Regions from separate parts of the Homo sapiens genome. Here region 1 is linked to region 2. Evidence: promoter capture Hi-C in 16 types of primary human blood cells and fetal thymus (Javierre and others, 2016). All regions are on one chromosome and are shown on one strand. The core of a region is centred on a gene start or on the middle of the fragment in contact, and the rest is flanking DNA. Distances in the headings are between cores, read along the strand shown.

Evidence for each region. The method cuts DNA at HindIII sites, captures the fragments that hold promoters and counts their contacts. A CHiCAGO score of 5 or more calls a contact.
Region 1: a contact is called between a fragment that was not itself captured here and the fragment with the promoter of ABCA5 in region 2, in 1 of 17 cell types (total B cells). The highest score is 5.6, in total B cells.

What each region holds. Positions count from the first base shown.
Region 1 is chr17:67,983,452-67,988,683 of GRCh38, reverse strand. BPTF (bromodomain PHD finger transcription factor) reads right to left here. Exons shown (of 28, transcript NM_182641.4): 28 at 4,306-5,232. Among named protein-coding and RNA genes, the nearest start is that of C17orf58, 10 kb to the left of the region's middle. The HindIII fragment of the contact is 3,310 bases long and covers 130-3,439 here.
Region 2 is chr17:69,324,415-69,329,393 of GRCh38, reverse strand. ABCA5 (ATP binding cassette subfamily A member 5) reads left to right here and starts at 2,261. Exons shown (of 39, transcript NM_172232.4): 1 at 2,261-2,342. RefSeq lists an enhancer at 1,755-1,894 and silencers at 1,975-2,354, 2,485-2,574. The HindIII fragment of the contact is 4,188 bases long and covers 1-3,942 here.

The sequences.
Region 1 (5,232 bases), core at 535-3,034, 1.3 Mb after region 2:
GTCAAGGCTGCTGTGAGCTGTGCCACTGCACTCCAGCCTGGGCAACAGAGCAAGACCCAGTTTCCAAAAAAAAAAAATAATAATAATAAAGAAAAAGGAAAAAAATAACTTTTACATAATCCTGAAGCTTAAGTTTAGGGTTTGACTTAGATTGGTTTGATAATAGTCCGTTTCTGGGTAATTCTGGAAACAAAAAAAGTGCCAGAGCTGTGATACCTGTGATACTTGGAGGTCACATAGTTAACATGCACACCTTGGCAAACACATGCAGGCCAGATTCTTAGAAACTTCCTGGCTAAACATTAAGGTCTTCATTCAAAACCAGGTCTGTGTCGGGCGCAGTGGCTCACGCCTGTAATCCCAGCACTTTGGGAGGCCGAGGCGGGCAGATCACTAGGTCAGGAGATCGAGACCATCCTGGCCAACATGGTGAAACCCCGTCTCTACTAAAAACACAAAAAATTAGCCTGGCGTGGTGGCGGGCGCCTGTAGTCCCAGCTACTCGGGAGGCTGAGGCAGGAGAATGTCATGAACCTGGGAGGCGGAGCTTGCAACTTGCAGTGAGCCAAGATCTCGCCACTGCGCTCCAGCCTGGGTGACCACGCCTGGCCAATTTTTTTGTATTTTTAGTAGAGACGGGGTTTCACTGTGTTAGCCAAGATGGTCTCGATCTCCTGACCTCGTGATCCGCCCACCTCGGCCTCCCAAAGTGTTGGGATTACATGCGTGAGCCACCGCGCCCGGCCTCAATGCCCGGCTAACTTTTGTCCTTTTTTTGAGATGGCATCTCACTCTGTCACCCAGGCTGGAGTGCAGTGGCGTGATCCCGGCTCACTGCAACCTCTGCCTCGCGGGTTCAAGCGATTCTCCTGCCTCAGCCTACCGAGTAGATGGGATTACAGGCGCCCATCACCACGCCCGGTTAATTTTTGTATTTTTAGTAGAGATGGGGTTTCACCATGTTGGCCAGGCTGGTCTAGAACTCCTGATCTCAAGTGATTCACCTGCCTCGGCCTCCCAAAGTGTTAGGATTACAGTTGAGAGCCACCATGCCTGGCCTTTTGTACTTTTAGTAGAGACGGGGTTTGGCCGTGTTGCCCAGGTTGGTCTTGAGCTTGTGGCCCCAAGTGAATCACTCACTTCAGCCTCCCAAAGTGCTGGGATTACAGGCATTAGCCACTGCGCCCTGCCAATTTGATGGAAAATTTTAATGAGCAAATGCACTATAGTTTCTTATAATCTTGTCCCATTGATAGATTTTTCTTAGCAAATGGGTTTGTGCCTATGTGCACACATTAATAGTCCCTAAATGGAATACTCTCTTGCCTTCAGTAGTAATTCAATAGCATCCCTCCTTCAAATGAAGCTATTATTTTACAATTCAAGGGAAAAAAGTACTTGTTTTTCTTTTTTTTCTTTTCTTTTTTTTTTTTGAGACGGAGTCTCGCACTGCGGAGTGCAGTGGCACAATCTCAGCTCACTGCAAGCTCCGCCTCCCGGGTTCACGCCATTCTCCTGCCTCAGCCTCCCGAGTAGCTGGGACTACAGGCGCCCGCCATCACGCCCGGCTAATTTTTTTTGTATGCTTAGTAGAGACGGGGTTTCACCGTGTTAGCCAGGATGGTCTCAATCTCCTGACCTCACAATCCGCCCGCCTCAGCCTCCCGAAGTGCTGGGATTACAGGTGTGAGCCACCGCGCCCAGCCAAGCACTTGTTTTTCTTTGGGTAGGAAAACGTCTATAAAACACATACACTGTTTGTTTGTTTATTTATTTATGTGAGACTGAGTCTTGCTCTTGTCACCCAGGCTGGAGTGCAGTGGCACAATCTTGGCTCCCTGCAACCTCCACCTCCTGGGTTTAAGCGATTCTCCTGCCTCAGCCTCCCAAGTAGCTGGGATTACAGGCACCCACCACCAGGCCCGGCTACTTTTTGTATTTTTAGTAGACACAGGGTTTTGCCACATTGGCCAGGCTGGTCTCGAACTCCCGACCTTGTGAGCCACCTGCCTTGGCCTCTCAAAGTGCTGGGATTACAGGCGTGAGCCACCACGCCCGACCCATAGCTCTTCACAACTGCCTTGTAAAGAAAGCATCATTTGGCACTGTTAGTATTTCTCTTGAATTTTTTTTTTTTTTTTAGACAGAATCTCGCTCTATCGGCCAGGCTGGAGTGCGGTGGCACCATCTTGGCTCACTGCAACCTCCGCCTCCCGGGCTCAAGCAATTTTCCTGCCTCAGCCTCCCGAGTAGTGGGATTACAGGCATGTGCCACCACAGCCTGCTAATTTTTGTATTTTTAGTAGAGACGGGTTTTCACCATGTTGGCCAGGCTGGTCTCGGACTCCTGACCTCAGGTGATCCGCCCGCCTCGGCCTCCCAAAGTGCTGGGATCACAGGCATAAGCCACCGCGCCCGGATAAAATCATTTTTAAGGCTGACCATTCACACATAGAAACAAACTCATAAAAACTGACCTGCCACCTATAATGCATCACCTCAATTTCAGGAAATATTTGAGCAAGCAATAAATAAATTAGATAAAGCAGGACATTAACATTTTAAAAATATAGCTAATTTTAGTTGAAAATATAGCTAATTTCTTTAGTTGAATTTGGTTCAAATTGGATCAAGCGGTATGATCTTCTGAGAAAATCTTCTAGTATCTCGCTCCAAGTATCCAGAAGTACCTCAGAATGTTTCAAATTATTAAAAATACTTCTCAGCTGGTTCTTACCCCCACCTCCTCAAGTACTTCATTACTTTATCCATGAAATATCACCATTCTCACATTAAGGACAAGAAGTCTGAGACCTACGGTAATAGCTTCAATCATGAAGAGCGAAAGCTGTAATAACCATGTAGCTTTGTCTAAGTGTGCAGAGATCTGAAAGGCCACCAGGTTGGCTCTTTAACATAAAGCAGCAGAGAGTTTGCCTAAAGGAATTAACAGAAATAGGGAAGTAACTTTTATTTGCAGATCCTAGGAAGGTAGATTACAAACAACAGCAAATCTTAGTGTCTCTAAATAACACTCTAGGCCATTTGAAATATAAAAAGGTAATTATTTTCCTTCAGAAAATATCTCCAAAAGCTCACTTTTTTTGAGACGGAGTCTCGCTCTGTCACCCAGGCTGGAGCGTAGTGGCACAATCTCAGCTCACTGCAACCTCTGCCTCCCGGGTTCAAGCTGTCCTCCCACCTCAGCCTCCTGAGTAGCTGGAACTACCGGCGTGTGCCTCTTGTCCAGCTAAATTGTTGTATTTTTAGTAGAGACAGGGTTTCACCATGTTGGCCAGGCAGGTCTCTCCAACTCCTGACCTCAAGTGACCCACTTGCTTCAGTCTCCCAAAGTGCTGGGATTATAGGCGTGAGCCACCATGCCCAGCCACAATTTTATTTAAACCTCCTGCAGAATTTGGATAGGAGAATAAAAGCTTTACCAATAGGAAAATACTTTTCATGAAATGGTTTCAAGGATTGTGAACTTGGCAGGTAAAGTATAACAGGTACTGAAAATACTTTTAGCCAAGGAAATCTATTGATGCAAATTAAATGTATTTATAAGCCCAAGGCCTGGGGTAGAAACATCCTAAGAATATCACAAATGTACAGTTTACTGCCTGAATTATTGGAAGCAAAATAGCTGTATTATGTAGATCTTTCTGAATAGCAGAAGCTTGTCAAAGATTTCTGCTTGTCACAGAAAAGCAGCTTTTGGAATTCATTATGTTCTATAAGAATGTATGGTTTTCAGGCCAGGCGTGGTGGCTCATGTCTATAATCCCAGCACTTTGGGAGGCCGAGGCAGGCGGATCACCTGGGATCGGGAGTTCGAGACCAGCCTGACCAACATGGAGAAACCCTGTCTCTACTAAAAATACAAAATTAGCCAGGCGTGGTGGCGCATGCCTGTAATCCCAGTTACTTGGGAGGCTGAGGCAGGAGAATTGCTTGAACCCGGGAGGCAGAGGTTGTGGTGAGCCGAGATGGCATCATTGCACTCCAGACTGGGCAACAACAGTGAAACTCCATCTCAAAAAAAAAAAAAAAGAAGTATGTTTTTCAAAAATTACTTCTGAAGGACTAAAGCTCTGTAGTTGATGAAACTATAAAATGTCTATGTATTTGTATGGTGATAGAAACTATACAACACTTTATACCGTTAAATACACATATGAAATTAACATCTTCCTGGTTTCAGATTTCCATAAAATTTATCCTTTTTGTACAATTTGGCAAGGCTAACAGCTATAGAAAACATATTAACCAACCAACCATTGCTTCATTAGAAACTGCACCAAATCCAATGTCAAAAACATTACTTTATTTTTCTAGGATGAAATGTCCTATTACGTACAAAAGAATTGCTGTTTAGAATTTGCCACAATTTGTTAAAAACATAGCAATCTATTGCCTACAGGTAGGAAAGTTCTTGCTGCAACAAATTTTAAATGATTAAGCCCATATATATTTATATATATGAATAAATAGTACAGAAATACTGTGACGTGATGAGATGCAGAATAATTTTATAACTCATTAAAATGTAGAATTCTTGCATCAGCACAGTGCATACAATATGTAACATTTTTTAAAAAAGTAAAAGGACAAAATAACCCATATTTAACTACTTCCATCTTAATACTTTAAGCAAAAATTTTTTCATGTTTTCATATTGAGCGATTAGTCTTTAGTTTGTAAGCATAAGTTTAAGTGACATCTTTATGTACAAAAAGGAATGGGCTTCATTAGATAAAATTAACCCAGAATAACCTGTACACCTGAGCCTGTAATAAGAAAGAATCGGGAACTGTAGCAACATCTTTCTTTTAAGAAACTGAGGTCTGGGAAAGGTTTTGCATAGCAGGGAAACATTAAAAGGAAAGAAACTTTGAAAAACAATAATTAGATAAATTCCAGAAGTTGGTAGGACAAAGCTAATATGAGTTAGTGCAAAATCTAGTAAAAATTTTTGCAAAGCTGCATAATCCAACTATGGCAGATTTTATAGAAGCTATTACCACAATGCAGTGATACAACGTGTAAGAACACTGAAAGGAAAAACATGCAAAATACATCTTCCTCTGTGGTTTCCATTTTCTCGCTACTGTTTACACTACTTTTCCTTACGTGGAAGAAACAAACAAACCAACAAACAGAAAACAAACCCAATCAACAAATAACACAGAGGATGAGGTCATCTAAAAAATGCCCTTCATAAAATATAAG
Region 2 (4,979 bases), core at 1,012-3,511:
CTGCACTCCAGCCTGGGTGACAGAGCAAAACTTTGTCACAAAAATAAAGAAAGAAAGAAAAGAAAAGAAAAAGACAAGTCAAGAAAAAGCTCTTAACCTAAGACTATTTACAATTTAATTGAAGAGATGGTAAGTAAATAAAATGATGTGAACAAGATGGTAGTATGTAGGCAATTGGGAGGAGAGTGAGATCATTTTGTCCAGGGTGATGAGATTTTTGGAGAATTGGGTTTTGGTCATGTCATTTAGAAACAAGAGTAAAAGCATGAGCAGACAGAATGAATGACAGAGAACATTACAAGGATAAGAAATGTAAGAAATAAATGCCTAGAATAGTAGTAGAAATGAGTAGACTTCTGAAGTTAAGGCAGGTTAAGGCTACTAGTGAGAAGTGTTGGGGTGAAAGTATGGTTCAGTAACATGTTAACCAAGTTTATCTTTCATGTATATTTCTTTACTTGGCCCCAAATCCTAGGCCATTGAGAATTTGTAACTAAAATGTTCTAGATGTTTCCAAAAGAGACAGAATATATCAGGGATAGTTTTCATTACATGCCTTCTTTAGTTTCCTGGTGTAGTTTTTTGAATATACTTATCTCCCTTTCCCCCATCCCCATTGCTAGATCTTTTAATCCAGGGGTCCCCAATCCCCAGGCCAGAGACTGCTACCGGGATCTGTGGCCTGCGAGGAACCAAGCAGCACAGCAGGAGGTGAGCGGAGGGCAAGTGAGTGCAGCTTTATCTGTATTTACAGGGGCCCCCCATGGCTGGCATTAGGGCCTGAACTCCGTTTCCTGTCAGATCAGCAGTGGCATTAGATTGTGATAGGAGCGAGAACCCTATTGTGAACTGCGCATGTGAGGGATTTAGGTTGCGTGCTCCTTATGAGAATCTAATGCCTGATGATCTGTCACTGTCTCCCATCACCCCCAGATGAGACTGTCTAGTTGCAAGAAAACAAGCTCATGGCTCCCACTGATTCTACATTATGGTGAGTTGTATAATTATTTCATTACATATTACAGTGTAGTAACAGTAGAAATAAAGTGCACAGTAAATATAATGTGCTTGAATCATCCCCAAACCATCCTCCCTCCCCCAGAAAAAACTGTCTTCCATGAAACTGGTCCCTGGTGCCCAAAAGGTTGGGGACCGCTGTTTTAATCATCAAGGATTCTGACGAACCTCTTTGAATTTTCTATTTAATTCATATTCCATAAGTAAAACTTGATTCCTTGTTTGTTTGTTTTTCCCCTAAGAATTTAGAAAGCAGAGTGCATGTTGGGGAGACCTGGTTTAAATTCGAGAAGCAGATAACACAAAGACAAGTAAAAAAAAAAAACATGATGTACACAGGATTGACAGAATAAAAAAAAAGTCTTTGTGCAAGGGAATGTGACTATACAGAAATGTGGAGAGGAAAATACGTAATGTTAGTGTTAATAACTTTTGACCCCATTTAGGTCACTTTGAGTAATGAAGCTCAAAACACTAGATTATATTTTTAGCAAAGTAAGTGCAGTATCCAGTCTCTCACAGATGTCATGTGTCTCAGGCCGTTTGGAAAATTCAGCATCTGCCGCATTCCCAGTCTTTGATGAGGACACTCCGCGAACTACAAGCACCCTCAGTGGGAGGACCTCCCAGGTCGGGGTGTGAGGGCCAATGAGGAGGCTGGGGAGGGGAGGCAAGAGTTACGGAAACGGGGCCACAGCACTCCAGATGCCGCGGCGGGAGGAAGCGGGGCTGCAGAGGACTCAAAACGCGTTCAGAGAGGCCCATCCAAATGCCAGGAGACAGACGGCAAGGATGCTTAAGAGGAGACGTGACTGGGCGAGGCAGATGAGGAGAGGGCCGTGGGCCAAGGTCACCCGCTAAGAGGCGGCAGGTTTACCACTGAGACACGAGGCCGTGGTTTTTGCCCGTGCCTCCAGAAAGAGCGTGGCGAGATCCCCGCAGAACCCAGGCGTGGGAGGCCCTGGGGAAGAGCCACGAGGCCCGACTCTAGTGGCTCAGGGGCCCTGGGCAGCGGCGCGCCACCGCTCGCCCCACCCTCAGCCGCTCTCCTCTTCCGGGCGCGCTGCTTGCCTGCGTGCGCCGGGACGCGCGGGGCCGAGCGTCTGAAGCGCGCCCGTACGCGGAGCGGCGCTTTCTAGGAGCCCCGCCCTCAGGTGCGCTCTGCAGGAGGCGGGGCGCGACTTCGGCGCCGCCAGCTCTGCCTGCGCCAGGAGCGCGCGGGTGCGCGCGGCCGCGCCCTCGCACAGATCCCAGCTGGGTCACCCGCACTGAGTCAACAGACTGAGCGCGTCCAGGCCTGACAGCTCTGCGGCTCGGGCCCTGAGGTGAGGCGGGCGTCGCGGGCGGCGGCGGCGCTTGAGGCTAGCCTGGGACAGCCGTCCCTGGGGGAGTTGAGGGGACGAGGAGGGGCTGGCCAGCGAGGGACGGCGGGGAGAGAAGGGGAGTTCGGCGTCTGAGGTGTGGGGTGAAGCGGGCTCGGAAGCGGGCAGAGGCGGCGAGCTGAGGGAAACAGACCTCCCTCAGCTCCCGGGAAGCGCGGGTTGCCAGCCTCGGGGATGCGGTGGGAGCGCCCAGGATGCGGACGTGAGGGGGTCGGGGCCCTGCGGCGGGGGCTCCGCGAGGCTCCCCTGGGACCGGGTCCGGCCGTGGGACTTCGGGACACTGCCTTTGCCTGGACGCTGTCGTTCCACCCTCAGCAACCTCAGGGAAAGAAGGAAAACAAATATTGATGTAAATTTCCGTCTGAACAGCTGGGTAATGAGCGCTTGCTCTTCCCTGCGAGGTTACGCGCGGATCATTACCTTGCGTGTTAAAAGGAGTTTCAGTGAGAAGAAAATGCGCAGATCTCATGACACAGTTTGGGAGGGAAATTCCCTGATCCTAAAACACGAATAGGAGCTCCAGGCATGGAAATACTTAATTGGATCGGAAAGCTGGGCAGGCTGGAGCTATTAAGCTGAAGGAGGTTTTCCCCTGGGCTCCTCAGGCTTCGATTTACGTTTTAAATAAATAAGTCCGAAAATAATGAAGATAATAACCACGTTTACTTTCTACAAGGGCGTTCTGAAGGAATCTAAGGGAAGAGGAGTATTTGCTGGACTACAGCTTTAAGCCAGGCTCGGTATTAGCTCTTTTCATTCTGACAGCAACCCTGTAGGATTGGAGGGGGTTATTCCAGTTGGGCAGGTGTGGAGAATGGGCCTCAAAGAGGTTAAGTAACTTATTAAGGTCTCAGCTAGTAAAAGGATGGAGTTGAGATTCCAACCCGGGCTGCCAGACCCTAATTCTGGTGCTTTATTTAGTATATTTTGTGTTTGCCGGGAGAGCAATATTGTATGTGTTTTAGGGAAGACTCCATAGTAGGGAACATTATTAGGGCAGTTAGGGCTTTGTGGGTATTTGTGTTAAAATCAAACTAAAGAGGCGTTAATCTTTGCATATGTGCTGTTTGAGTATATTTCCTTTCAAACAGATTTAGTGTAGGGAAATCTTACATTCACTATAAGAGCAAATTTATTAGTACATTCCATGTGTATTGCATGTCTTTTATTTTTAAAGAGACAGCGTCTCGGGCTAGAGTGCAGTGGTGCGATCAAAGTTCACTGCAGCCTTGAACGTCTGGACTCTAGGGACCCTGCTGAATAGCTGGGGCTACAGGCGTGTGTCACTGCGCCCAGGTAATTTTTTATTTGTTTTTCAGAGACGAAGTCTTGCTATATTGCCCAGGCTGGTTTGTTGCATGTCTTTTACATTCCAGATACCATACTATGTGCCAAGAGTACCGATATGAATACAATTTATAATCTCTGTCCTTGAGTTTAGTTGAGAGGGTGATTGCATAAAAGAATTTTATGATATTGTACTAAGTCATAACTTTTCTAGTATGTAAATTAGTTGGATTAAAAATAGTTTTAAGGGCAAGCTTTTAAGGACCTATTATGCATAAGAAAATTTATTGGATGACTTGTCCTCTGTGTACCATTGCATTGTTATTTTCTCCCTCAGCAAGAAACACTGTGATAAAATTTAGGTTAAATTATATTGACAACTAGCATTTTTTTTTTTTTGAGACAGGGTCTCATTCTGTCACCCAGGATGAAGTGCAGTGGCAGGATCTTGGCTCACTGCAGCCTTGACTTCGCAGGCTCAAGTGATCCTCCCACCTCAGCCTCCCAAGTAGCTGGGACCACAGTTGTGTGCCCCTACGCCTGGCTATTTTTTTTTTTTTTTTTTTGGTAGAGACAGTGTCTCTCTATGTTGCCCAGGTTGATCTTGAACTCTTGGGCTCAAGCCTTCCTCCCACTGGGATTGCCACGTGAGCCACTGCACCTGACTGCATTTTGTTTTATTATTGCACCACCTTACAGTAAATTTTAAAGCAATAAAGAAGATGAGAGCATTTATAATTTATCCCTTTTTAAGCTAAAAGGCATATTTTGTAGTGCTTTTATTTCATTGATTGAGAAGCAAATGATGTAGCTAGGCAGGAGTTTGTTTCATGTGCCAGATATGTTCCTAATTTCTCATTCCAAAAATATCTTAGTTTAAAAGTGTAGCTAATACCAGATTGCATTTAATTTCTTGTGTTTCAGAGTTGTAATGAAATCAGTCTTCAGTTTAGGCTGAAATGGCACATTGTTGAAATGTATAACATTACTTTGTGGTGGATTTTGGAAATCTCTTTTAATTGCTTCAGTTTTCTCAGTAAAGTAGGATTCAAGGTCATAATCTGAGGGTGATCCTACAGATGGAAGCTTTGGAGATTTGGGGATTGGGAAAGTGATGGACTAGTGGAATATGTGATTGCTAGGAAATTAAACATGACTCACAGTTGTGAAAAGTACAGTAGAGGAAAGATATGAGTGCACAAATTAGGGTGTCTAATTTTGGATACCAGAAACTTCATAATCCATTCCCAATGCCTGCCTTTACCGTGTTATCTAGAACATACATCTGCACCC